Regions from separate parts of the Homo sapiens genome. Here region 2 is linked to region 1. Evidence: promoter capture Hi-C in 16 types of primary human blood cells and fetal thymus (Javierre and others, 2016). All regions are on one chromosome and are shown on one strand. The core of a region is centred on a gene start or on the middle of the fragment in contact, and the rest is flanking DNA. Distances in the headings are between cores, read along the strand shown. Region 1 holds the start of DIS3 (DIS3 exosome endoribonuclease and 3''-5'' exoribonuclease). Region 2 holds the start of HSPH1 (heat shock protein family H (Hsp110) member 1).

Evidence for each region. Contacts are between HindIII fragments. The CHiCAGO score rates a contact against its expected background, and 5 or more counts as called.
Region 2: a fragment that was not itself captured here is called in contact with the fragment with the promoter of DIS3 in region 1 in 1 of 17 cell types (total B cells); the score reaches 5.4 in total B cells.

Annotation. Positions count from the first base shown.
Region 1 is chr13:72,779,751-72,786,071 of GRCh38, forward strand. DIS3 (DIS3 exosome endoribonuclease and 3''-5'' exoribonuclease) reads right to left here and starts at 2,150. Exons shown (of 21, transcript NM_014953.5): 1 at 1,855-2,150; 2 at 1,096-1,253. The coding sequence starts at 2,082. PIBF1 (progesterone immunomodulatory binding factor 1) reads left to right here and starts at 2,383. Exons shown (of 18, transcript NM_006346.4): 1 at 2,383-2,599; 2 at 3,673-3,971. The coding sequence starts at 3,720. RefSeq lists enhancers at 1,342-2,256, 2,174-2,283 and a silencer at 1,844-1,893. The HindIII fragment of the contact is 4,441 bases long and covers 1,717-6,157 here.
Region 2 is chr13:31,155,644-31,162,216 of GRCh38, forward strand. It overlaps HSPH1 (heat shock protein family H (Hsp110) member 1), which reads right to left and starts at 6,261. Exons shown (of 18, transcript NM_006644.4): 1 at 5,833-6,261; 2 at 3,163-3,220; 3 at 1-11. The coding sequence starts at 5,939. RefSeq lists enhancers at 5,355-5,900, 5,901-6,446, 6,058-6,137, 6,268-6,387. The HindIII fragment of the contact is 798 bases long and covers 4,516-5,313 here.

The sequences.
Region 1 (6,321 bases), core at 900-3,399:
GTGGTGGTGGTGGTGGTGGTGGGGGGGGTAAGGGGTGGTGATCCTGCCAAATAGGCTAGGAACACTGTTAAACATACTACAATGTATAAAACAGCCTTTCCACCACAAAAAAATTATTCAGTTCAAAATATCTATAATGCCAAGATTGAGAAGCCCTGATCTAATCCAATAAAAGTACCATACTCATCATAGATTATTTATGTAATATAACGTAATAGGCAATATCATATTTTTGAGACCACACACTGAGTTCAAAGGTCTTGAATCTAAAAGCACAACAAAGAATTATATTCCTGGCCAGGCACGGTAGCTCATGCCTGTAATCCCACCACTTTGAGAGGCTGAGGCAGGTGGATCACGAGGTCAGGAATTCGAGACCAGCCTGACCAACATGGTGAAACCCTGTCTCTACTAAAAATACAAAAATTAGCCTGGCATAGTGGTGCGTGACTGTAATCCCAGCTACTCAGGAGGCTGAGGCAGAAGAATCGCTTGAACTTGGGAGGTGGAGGTTGCAGTGAGCAGAGATCACACCACTGCACTCCAGCCTGGGTGACAGAGTGAGACTCCATCTCAAAAAAAAAAAAAAAAAAAAAAAAAGAATTCTATTCCTTAACCTAATCTTGCTCAATGTAATCAGCTGCAAAGTATTAAACTTTTAAAAAGACCATTAAGAATAAATCTACTTTCTATTTTTAAACAAAATAGAAACTTCACAAACTCATATATTTTATTACCCTCTGTTAGTTGTTCACATAATATGGTATTCCAGGAACTTAAGCAAATCTCATCTTCCAAGATTCTATGGTCCAACTCATGCTAAAACCAATTCAAAATGAAAACATTTTGGAAATTAAAGTACCTATTGTAGTCTAGGAGTCAGCAGACCTTGGTTTTAGGCTTGAGCCCATCAATGCCTGTGTGACCTTAGAGAGATCCACTTAGCATTATCTTCTGCACAGCCATGTAAGAATTAAATAAGGTATGAAATCTATCACTTATCTTCTGACAATGTCATAAATTACTCACAGGAACCCTCTCCCGAATTTTGCTAATCCTGTGGTTTTCTGATATTTAACGTAATATTCCTCCTACCTATGGTGCTCATTAGTGAAAGTATAGAAATGCTTCTCTTGGTTATTAGTCACATCTCGGATGCGTTTATATACGGGGGCACTGCGATTTCTCACTTCTTGAAGAACTGTTTGTAGCACAATTACATTCCTGATGGCAGGGTCCTCAAGAACATCAATCTTAAAGAAAGATAAAGTTAATTTTTCCTATATTCATTTGTAAATAGCTCTGTCAAACATAAAATCCTGTTTTATGTTGGGCATAAATACTTTATGTTTTAAAAACACTGAATAAGTTAAGCCAAGAAGCTATTTGGCTATAGAAAACGAGACAATAGTCACTAAACCCTTCAGATCTATTAAAAAAAGCACACTTAAACAGACCAATCACAAGACTTCGTAGAATTAAGGGTATTAATAAAGGAATACGTTGGCCCACATAGTTTTTTGTTCCTAGGCACTTACAAGCTGCCTGGGAGTCGCAGGCTGGAGGCCACAGAAGCCCAGGTCCCCGGCCTCCAGGCACTTACAATCTAAGGCAGAAGAGACACCAGGAGTTAGAAAAATAACGTGTCTGAACTACGACTCCAAGAACTAAATTTTTTAAAGCACAAGGAAAAGAACCTCGGCCTGGGGAACAGGAAGCTTCGGTCCCGAGGGGGTTTCCCTTTCGCTAGGTATGTGACACTGCCAAAGACCCGCCTCCCTGGGCCTCAGTTTCCCTGTCATACCCCCTTGTCCCCGTGGGGCCGCGCTGTCCGCGGTTCGCCCGCCCACGCACCTGGTGCAGTAACACATTAGTGTCGGGCAGCAAGTAGTGCGGTTGCGGGCAGACGCTGCTCGCCGGGTCCTGGGGCTGCGGCTCCAGGGCCGGCCCCTCGTGCGCCCCTCCACACGCTGCGCACCCGGGCGCACCGCAGCCGATGTCGTCTCGCAGGTAGTGCTCGCGCACGATCTTCATCACGCCGCCCGCCCGGGTCTTTTTTAAGAACGTCTTGGACTTGAGCATCTTGCCTCGCCGCGCAGAATCCTAACCCCAGCAGCGCTCTTCCAGCAAAAGGCGTCAATCTAGAATACGCCTAACCCCGGAGGTTCTTCCCTTTCCATTCCCGGATATTAGTAACACTTCTCGCGGGAAAATGCCGAGATAAACATTGGTTGGCTCTCTGACGGCCGCGGGGATTGGGCGAGAGTGGGGAGGGGCGGCAAAGCAAGGCGAGGAGCCATTTCCGCCCGTGGCCTAGGCGGGGCTTCCTTCTGGACGCCACCTCACAACGTGTGTTGCTTTCCGCTCCTCGGAACATCCGGGAGAGTTGACTTCCGGCGGCTTGTGGGAGTGCTGGTTCTGTCCTCCTTGCGGGTGCGGAGATGGTTGTCTTGGTTACGGGTCCTAACGGTCCCCTGCCTTGAAATCCCTTGTTGAGGGCCTGCAACCTTGTGCTTCCGACCGGAGACGCCTTTGGTCCCTCGGTGTCTGCACTGGCTGCTGGTCAAGGCTTCAGTGTGGAGTAATTGACACTTTCGAGGTAACTTGCGACTATCATCGCTTTCTTTCCCGCGTGGGGCAAGGAATCCCCCGAGCTGCCAAGTTTGGGGCTTAATTTTCACGCCGAGTGTATAGGCAGTCCCCGTCTCGGGCCCTTTGTAATCGAGGAGAGAATTTGTCTTTGAATTCACTTTTTCTTACCTATTTCCCTTCAAAAAGAAGGAGGGAGGCCGATCTTAGTATAGTTCTCGCTGTTTCCCCTCCACACACCTTTCCTTATCATTCAGTTTAGAAAAACTGAAATATTTAATAGCATAATTTGTTATATCATGAGGTATTAAAACAAGGTAGTTGCTAACATTCTTATGAGAGAGTTAGAAGTAAGTTCTATTTAGAATTTCTTGAATTTTTCTTATATCCTGTTGTTTTCATTCTGCTATCTATAAAAAATGTTTTTGTCCCCGTTTTCCCTATTTAAAACATCTTCAATGATGCCTCATTGCCTGTAGAATAAAATCCAACCCTATTTTGACATTTAAGGCCTTCCAGTCTTGATCGTTAAGGGCGTGTGTGTGTGTGTGTGTGTGTGTGTGTGTGTTTGTGTTTGTGTTGGGGGGGCGGTGAAAGGAGTAACTATTCCAAGACTTGGCTTTGTTTTTTTACTTCCACTTACGTATCATTAATAACTGCATGATTTCTCCTTTTTACCATGCCTGTCCAAATCTTTAAAGATTCTAAGTGCTACCTCTGTGTAACGTTTCCCTGACCAACTCAGACGTGATTTCTGTTATCTTTGAGCATGTGTTGGTTTTAGTGGTGCCATTCTTGATTATAATGGGCTTTTTTCTTCATCTTGTACATTTCTTTGTTTCCTCCAAGTAAGATTCCTCCCCGCAGGAACTGTTTTTTTAAGTTTCTCGAAGGCTGACTTCATATTAGGAATTAATGTGTTTGATTTGAGCATTAACTTAACTGCAATAATCTGTTCTAGATTTGGGATGCACTAAATTGCCTAATATTTATTTAAGGAATCCTTAGTCTCTCTTTAATACAGTCCATGATTTCTGTAGTTAATTTTATAGTACATTTGAATTAATGTTTTTTAACCTACAGAATATTAAAATCAAATTAGAGAAGAAAACTGATCCATAATAATAAAAATGTCTCGAAAAATTTCAAAGGAGTCAAAAAAAGTGAACATCTCTAGTTCTCTGGAATCTGAAGATATTAGTTTAGAAACAACAGTTCCTACGGATGATATTTCCTCATCAGAAGAGCGAGAGGGCAAAGTCAGAATCACCAGGCAGCTAATTGAACGAAAAGAACTACTTCATAATATTCAGTTACTAAAAATTGAGCTATCCCAGAAAACTATGATGATCGACAATTTGAAAGTGGATTATCTTACAAAGGTAAGATCAGGTTTAAATTTTGTGTTCTATATGCTTTATTGTCTTCAAACGGCAGGTAAATAAGAATTAAATACACACATTATCTGAACTTGAAATGATACATTTATATTTCTTGACAAGTACAGCCTTTAAATAATTTTGGTGTTCATAGAAGTAGAGAATAGAATGGTGGTTACCAAGGGCTGGCATGGTTAGGGGTGAAGGAGGGTTGGGGAGATGTTGGTCAAAGGATACATAATTACAGTTGAATAGGAGGAATACATTCAAGAGATCTATTGGACAGCATGGTGGCTATAGTTAATGACATTGTAATCTTGGAAAACATTGTGTTTTTGAAAAACACAGCAGATGTTAAGTGTTCTCATTACTAAAATAACTATGTGAGGTAAAACATTTTTTAATTAGCTAGAGTTAACCATTTCACAATGTACGTATACTTCAAAACATTATGTTGTACATGACATATACACACAGTTTTATCTGTCAGTTGGGATCACCTGAGGTCAGGAGTTTGAGACCAACCTGGCCAACATTGTGAAACCCCAGCTCTACTTAAAAAAAAAAAAAAAAAAAAATTAGCCAGCCATGATGGTGGGTGCCTGTAATCCCAGCTGCTCGGGAGGCTGAGGCAGGAGAATTGCTTGAACCCAGGAGGCAGAGTTTGCAGTGAGCCACAATCGTGCCACTGCACTCCAGCCTGGGCAACACAGCAAGACTCTCAAAAACTAGTAATAATAATAATAATAATAATTGGAGGCCAAGTGCGGTGGCTCACACCTGTAATTCCAGCACTTTGGATGCTGAGGCCAGTGGATTGCTCCAAGCTCAGGAGTTCGAGACTACCCTGAGCAACATGGTGAGACCACCCTTGCTACTAAAAAAATAAAATAGCCCCGCGTAGTGGTGCTGCGCCTGCAGGCCCAGCTACTTCCGAGGCTGAGGCGGGAGAATCACTTGAATCCGGGGGCAGACATTGCAGTGAGCTGAGATCGTACCACTGCACTCCAGCCTGGGTAACAGAGTGAGACCCTATCTCAAAAAAATAATAATAATAATTTAAGTATTGAAATATGGAGTGATTTAAACGTAGATATGGATAAATTACTTTTGTAGGCTCAATTTAAAAAATCTAACATATGAGGTATTTTGTTGTTTTTTGTTGTTGTTGTTGGAGACAGTCTTGCTCTGTCACCCAGGCTGGAGTTCAGTGGCACAATCTTGGCTCACTGCAACCTCCACCTCTTGGGTTCAAGCAATTCTCCTGCCTCAGTCTCCCACGTAGCTGGGATTACAAGTGCTCCCCACCATGCCCAGCTAGCTCTCTGGGATCACTTTTATAAGGGCACCAATCCCAACAGTGAGGGTTCTACCCTTATAACCTAATCACCCCAAAGGCCCCAACTTCCTGCTACTCACATTGGTGATTAGGTTTCAATATACAAATTTTGAGGGGAGAAAAAAAAATAAGCACACAAGACGTATTAGCCGTTGTTGTTTTCAACTAACATAGCATCCTTATCTGTTTCATCCCTTTCATTTTCTGTGCCTTTTATGGCCATCGGACTGAATTTGTTTGTTATTTGTCTGTGAATAGACTATGAGGTCCATGAGGACGGGGATGTTTTTGTATTCATGGTTGTATTTCCAGCACTTAGAACGGTGCCTGACACAAATTAAGTGCCCAGCTATTTCTTAAATGAATGACTGAACCCCATTTTGCTCTGATTAAACAAAGCCACTAGGTGGTTAATAGCATACCCAAGGCCATTCAGATGAAAGTGATAGAGCCAGATAGGATTCAAACCTAGGAAGTCTAAAGCCTATACTCTACACAAGTGAAGCTCCAAACACTTTCTTTTAGGTACCCTATACAGTCACCTACCTAGTCTAGGTCACTTGGTAGTTTATCCATGCATCCAGTGGTTTCCCATCCCTATTCCCTTACTCTTTTTGCATTTCACATGAACTCCATCTACCTTCACCTCTCCAGACCTTAGTGCAACTCATTGAAGAAACCTGAGGTTATCTCCCATTCATTAATTCACCCACTCAGTCAACAAGTATTTTTTTAAGTGCCACCTGTATACCATATCCAGACTTACATTTTGTTCAGCCACCTCTTGTATTATTTGTTTTCAACTTGCATTGTCCTTGGTTGTCAATGGCTTTGCTTCTTTTTAGGTGTAAGCTTTATATTATAGAAATGTTGGTTGATTCATGACAGGCTCTCTAGTGTAACAAATCCAAATTACAGTTCTAGATGCACACAGTTTGGGTTTTGAATTCCAGCCTTACTAAATTCCTTAATGTTTTTATTCCGTGATTTCCTATAAAATGATAATAGTATTTA
Region 2 (6,573 bases), core at 3,665-6,164, about 42 Mb before region 1:
TGAGTGATTTGCTGCAAAAAGAAGTTTGAGATTTTAATTTTTTTCTTTAATTTCACCACCTACCAGTAATTTTAGTAATTTTATTTATTCACTTTACAACTCAAACCAATCCTATGAGTGCACATAAGTTGCCCTGAGGCCCACCAATTTCACTGAATTTCCCATCTATGAACAGATTTTATTTATACTTTTTCCTTCTCCTATAGAAAATGCCAGAAAGTAAGCAGCAAGAGGGAACAAGAGGCAAAATAGTGTGACGACAGACTTTAAAGATTTCAAAATCTGCAAGATAAACTCAAAGACAGTGAAAACTATCACTAAAGCTCTGAACAAACACACTAGAATTTTATCACTGTTTCATTCCTTTTTTTCCCTGCTAAACTTGTGAGGTTTTATACCCAATGAATGAATAGATCTAGTAGCACTATAGCCAAATTATAATTTTGTTTAAAAAAGTTAATTTTTGGCCAGGCGCGGTGGCTCACGCCTGTAATCCCAGCACTTTGGGAGGCCAAGGCGGGTGGATCACGAGGTCAGGAGATGGAGACCATCCTGGCTAACACGGTGAAACCCCGTCTCTACTAAAAATACAAAAAATTAGCCGGGCGTGGTTGCGGGCACCTGCAGTCCCAGCTACTCGGGAGGCTGAGGCAGGAGAATGGCATGAACCCAGGAGGCGGAGCTTGCAGTGAGCCAAGATCGTGTCACTGCACTCCAGCCTGGGCGACAGAGCGAGATTCCGTCTCAAAACAAAAAAAAAAGTTAATTTTTATAGCTGGGCATGGCAGCACATGCCTGTAATCCCAGCTAATTGAGAGGCTGAGGCAGGAGAATCGCTGGAACCTGGGAGGCAGAAGTTGCAGTGAGCCAAGATAGTGCCATTGCACTCTAGCTTGGGTAACAAGGGTGAAACTCATTCTCAAAAAAAAAAAAAATTAAAGTTAATTTTTATAGTCTAATAAATTGCTAAGCGGCCAGGATAAACACTCTGTGCCAGAAAATGCATGGATCGCTACCTTTCCTAGCAATAGCATGAAATGCTAGTTATCTACACCAAAAAGTAGAAGGCAGAAGAGTAATTCAACAAGTTTCTAAGTGACCTAATGTTTTCAACTGCATGTGCGTATTCTGAAGACTTGAGAGCCATGGTTTTTAAAAACAAGAAATTGAACTGCTATCTTACACAACTGGCGCACGTTTGTTAAACTGTTGTAAAAGATGGTGTTTTTTTAATCCACCGTTTTGGTCAAATATTTTAGGTAAACTCTAGATTGAAAAGCCCCACTTCAGAGCACATTTCACTCAAGGGTACCTCATTTGAAACAAGAAATAACTGTAAGATTGAAAACTAAGACTTCTGAAATTATTAGCTTAAAAATACCAAAACAGTATATTATTTACTTTTTCTCTTACCTAATTTTTTGAATAAAGGGAAGAATACAGTTAGCTTGGCAGTACTAGTTTTCAAACAATATAGAATTCAAGCAAGTTTAGGTCTTAAAATTCCTTATGTGTCTAAAACTGAGATGAAGTATGTCTAGTAGTATACTGGCCAAATATGAGTCTCAACAGATTCTTCTCAAGTAATCACAAGGATGCAACAGAATTTTAGGTCTAGGCTATCAATATCCTCAATGGGCACATTTAAAGGATTGTTACAACTAAAGTCCCACTATCCTTTTGAACATATTTTGAGTGTGCCTATTTCTCCTTTCCTTTTTCACCCCTTTTAGTTATCTCTCTCTTCCAATGTAACAAGGAAATAAAGTTAAATCCAACCTACATATTCAAAGGATTAGAAAACATGAAACCATTTTCTAATGAAAGCAGATTCATAAGTTTGATAAAGTGCCAATTTCTTATTAAACATAAGCATTTTAAGAGATGTTTTTGTTTTCAAATCTGACCTGATTTTTTAATAGGTCAGTACTAAATACATTCCATAATATATAATACAGTACTCAATCTAATCCAAAATTTTCTTTCTTAGCAATCTATTTTCTGTATTTAGAAAAATGTTTTTTATTTCAAAGAGCCTCTCAAAGAGCATTTCACGTATCTTTTACTGTTTTTCTCTCCACCTCCAAGGGGTCTGTCTAGATCAGTGCTGTTCAACAGAATTATATGTAAGTCATAAAGGAGAGCTACCTACATAAAATTTTGTAGCAGCCACGTTAAAAACTGGTAAGAGATTAGATTAATTTCAATTAACTTAGGCCAATATATTTTAGGAACTATCACTTCAATAAGTAGTCAACAGAAAAAAATTGATCAGATACCGTACTTTACTTTTCAATTCGATTAAAAAGTAAAAAATCTCATGTGTATTTTATACTTCACATTTTGATTCAGACGAGCCACATTTCAAATGCTCAATACAGTACATGGCTACCATATTTTTTAAACAGCACAGGTCTGGACAAAAATTTCTCCCAGTCCTACCTTAATTACTAAGTAACCTGAAAATGCTTTTAAACACATAATTTCTTAGAAGTTCCTTCTATAAAAGGAATCTCTTAAATGAGTATCACGAGAAACTTCACAAGAACTTAAAATGCCTTGTTTATAATTTCTAAAAATTAGATAAATGAAAGGCAGCAAAAAGTTACTAAAAGTTAAAGTCAGCAGGCCAGGCGTAGGCTCACACCTGTAATCCCAGCACTTTGGGAGGCTGAGACAGATGGATCACGAGCTCAGGAGTTCGAGATCAGTCTGACCAACATGGTGAAACCCCATCTCCACTAAAAATACAAAAACTAGCTGGGCGTGGTGACACGCGCCTGTAATCCCACCTACTCAGGAGGCTGAGGCAGGAGAATCGCTTTAACCCGGGAGGCGGAGGTTGCAGTGAGCCGAGATCGCGCCACTGCACTCTAGCCTGGGTAACAGAGCGAGACTCTATCTCAAAAAAAAAAAAAAAAAAAAAAAAAGTTAAGGATGGCAGATTAGAAAGTTAAAGTCGATCTTAATAAAACAAGGGAAAGGGAACAGAAAGGAAAGAGTGTCATCATCTGAAGGTTCATAAAGAATACTTGAATTACATTTTTAAAACTCAAAAATACATAAACTTAGGCACACTTTACCCTCTTATATGTCTCTTGAGATTTTCCTTTTAAAAACTCCCCCCTTAAAAAGTGATCCGAATTCTCTTAAAGAACATACCTGATTTTTGGCTGCAACTCCGATTGTTCTATTTTTTGATCCAAATGATATGACTGACCTAGAAAAAAATATATTCCAAAAAATTAAAAAGCATAAAGGTTGATATTTTAAACTGATAAGAGAAAAATACTAACATAAATGTCCTACCCATTAGGGGATAGGGAACAAGCATAGCACAATTTTAAGGTCTATAGCTTTCATCAGATACTCAAAGGGGGCTTCCACTTAATTGCTGCTCTGAGATCCAACCTAGGTGGCAGTTCTACTACCCCAAAAACCTCTGCTCGTGGCTCAGGAATTCTCCAGGTTCCAGTTATTATGAACCGAACATTAACTTTGAAAATGTTTTAAATATGTTAACGGTATTATTAATTTGACCCTACACACGACTAACAAAAAATAGGATGTGACTCTACCTTTCAGTCACCAACTCTGTACAAATCTAAATGTCATTGTCATACCGACTTTTGTTCTGATATACCACCGGCTTCTTTAGGAATCAAAAGTTTTTATGCAAACGCAAGCAAATGAACCCAAGTTACACCTCTGAAGTTTAAAGAGCACAAAGAGGTTCCCATCTGGGAGATTCTGCCGGAGAAAGAAAAAAATGATGCACAACAAGTACCATGGCAAAACAGAATATAAATGTCGAGGGAAAGGAGTGACTAATCAGTTACATCAAATCTGTTTTGAAGAGATGGAAAGTGACTTACAACTGTGAAACAACCTTCTCAGCCACCATGGAAATGGAACCGCACAATAACAGAGCAGAGACTAGCTTAAAAAGTCTTGTGAGAAGAAGGTAAGTGAATTAGGTTTTGGATTAGAGGAGTTATCTAATTCTGGATTACTAATTCAAATATAATCTAATTTTGGGTGAGTTACTCCTACCTGCTTAGGTATGAGTAATGGTAAACGAGATGAGCAAAACGGGAAAATACTGAGGGCATTAAGTACCACCCTTAAGTTTAAATTTGCTATAATAGAAACATCCTCAAACTATATTATCTGAGCAAGTGTTAAATAAAATAGCATCCTAAAAGCCAGAGAAGTGTCCAAGCAGAAGCTAGACAAGAAACCGTCAAAATCAGAGCATCACTGTAAGCTCTGAATAACCATACACTTGCAGAATGGATCTACTCATTTTCCTAGGGGAGAATCAAATTAATTGTACTAAATAACAATTAGTAGCTGATACAATAGAATCCACCACAATTATAGTTTAACAAACATATTAAGGGGAACTCCAATACTGCCCTCAGTTCACATTTTTCAGGGCCATACCTGTTGTCTTTGATTTCACACAGTAGTCCCTGTATAACACAATTTTTTTTCCCACTCTCTTCTCTGAAAAGCTTTTCTTTGTTTTATTGGATCAACCAGAACAAAGTATAAACTGTATCTAGGCATGAAAGCCTGAAATACTGTTTTCTTTCTTACTAAACTCCAATTAAAAAAACCTTAACCAAAACACAAACTTAGATCTGCAGGGGTAGACGTACAGGTTGCTCAGAACAGTCTTCCTAACGTTACTAACATTGCCAAATATTTTGCCTCAGATTTTCCACTCAACTTTCATAAACGTTCTCAGCACCCAAATAATTGTATTACCCCAGTCATTCATTCTACCTTTAGGTTCAATGTTTTCATTTTGCACTTTTCATCCTGAGCTTGGGACATTTGAAAAAAATTAATAGGTACAGTATTTTCCTTGAGATGAAATCATTTGTTTTCATCAATGCACATGCAGATATGTTTGTATATATTCTCGTCCGAAAATATCCCTTCACGAAACTTGCTTTTTAAAATGTTGCCCTTTGCCCACCCTATGCTCCTATAGAATATTTAGTTCAGTGACGACATCCATCCTCTTTTGGCGTCCTAGCACAAAAGTATGCAATTTTTATTCTCTTTTAAATAAACTGTGCAAAATTAATTTTAAAAATACGGTTTACAATTCCTCATGAATGGCAAAGAGCAAAAAAAAAGACGTTTACATCTTTCGACAATGATCCCGGGCATTAAGGCCAACAATGTTAGCAACGAAGAGACTGGGTAAAAAGAGGTGGGCTAATCTTTCATAGGACTGCTTCCGTGGTCGCTAACAACAATCCGCCTGCTCACTGGACAAGCAGCGACACAAGCTCTGGAAGCTTCCAGTTCATTTCGAGATTCACAATGCGGAAGAAAAAGGCCGGCAGCCCCGCTCCGCGGTGCGCAAAGATATGCGCGAAGGGAGGAGGACAAGCTGGAGGCGGCTCAGCCAGCTCAGAGAGGCCGGGTGGGGATACGGGGGCGGCCGCGGAAGGCGCAGGCTGCAGCCTGCCAAGAAAAGGGAGCGAAGTTGCGGGCTTTGCCGCAGCCCGACCCCCAGTAGGTTTTGAAAACCCCCAATAGGAAGCCCGCACAAGGTGACGACCCTTAGAGTCTCGACTCTGGGACTCCTCTCACCCCCGTGAATCCCTGAGACAATCCCTTCTCCAATTTGTGATGGCAAGCCCCCCATCCCTCCTCTGGCCGGGTCGCTGGTCCCTAGTTCCACGGAGGGGTGCGCCGCTGCCCAAACGCCTCCGTTTGCCGCGGTGATCCGTACAGCCAGCCCGCGATCTTGGGTCCCCACACTAAGGGCCCAGAACCTCCTCCCATCCACCCTCGCAGACTCCCACTTACGGGGTGCACCGGTCGCTGAACTCATTGGCGATGGTCTCGATGCCCCCGGCCCGGGCTACCGCGATGTAGCAGCTCTGCGAGCCCACGTCCAACCCCACCACCGACATGGCCGGCTCGCGGTCCGCCTCCGCCTCGGGTCTCGGTCTGCGTCCTCCGGCCCCCTGCCTGCTTCTCCTGCCGCCGCTTTCTGCCCTGGCCGCGTTCTGCTCCGGCCCGCGGGGTCTGGCCGTTCCTCTGACACTCAGAAGGACACACAGACAGCCGCGGCCTGTCAGGAGCCTCCTACTCCCCCGGGGACAGCGGCGGCTGGCTGATAAGAAACCCTGGGAGAAAGCGGGGCTCAGCCTCCGCAGGTCGCTCCGCACCTCGGGTTGCCTGCCTCACTCTGCCGCGGCTCGCACACCGGCGCCGGCGCTGAACTACCGACCCAAAAGGGGAGGTCCCACTTCCTCAGCCTTATGTATCGCACTGATCAGAACTTTCCAGAATCTGCGGCATTTACTCACCGGCGCCTCCACCGGCCCCTCCACGTGCCACTTCCGCTTCCTTCTTCTCGAGCCTTCTGGAAAGATTCTACCCAATGGGCAGCCGGTCCCCGGAGAACGGCCGCCGTTGCCATGGCAGCGACAGGGCCGCTCCCGTGCCATTGGCTCAAACCTGCCTCCGCCCACTCCCGCCCTAGCCACAGGCGTTTTGCTGCCCTAATAAAACAGGCAACGAAGAATGACTCCAAAACTCGGA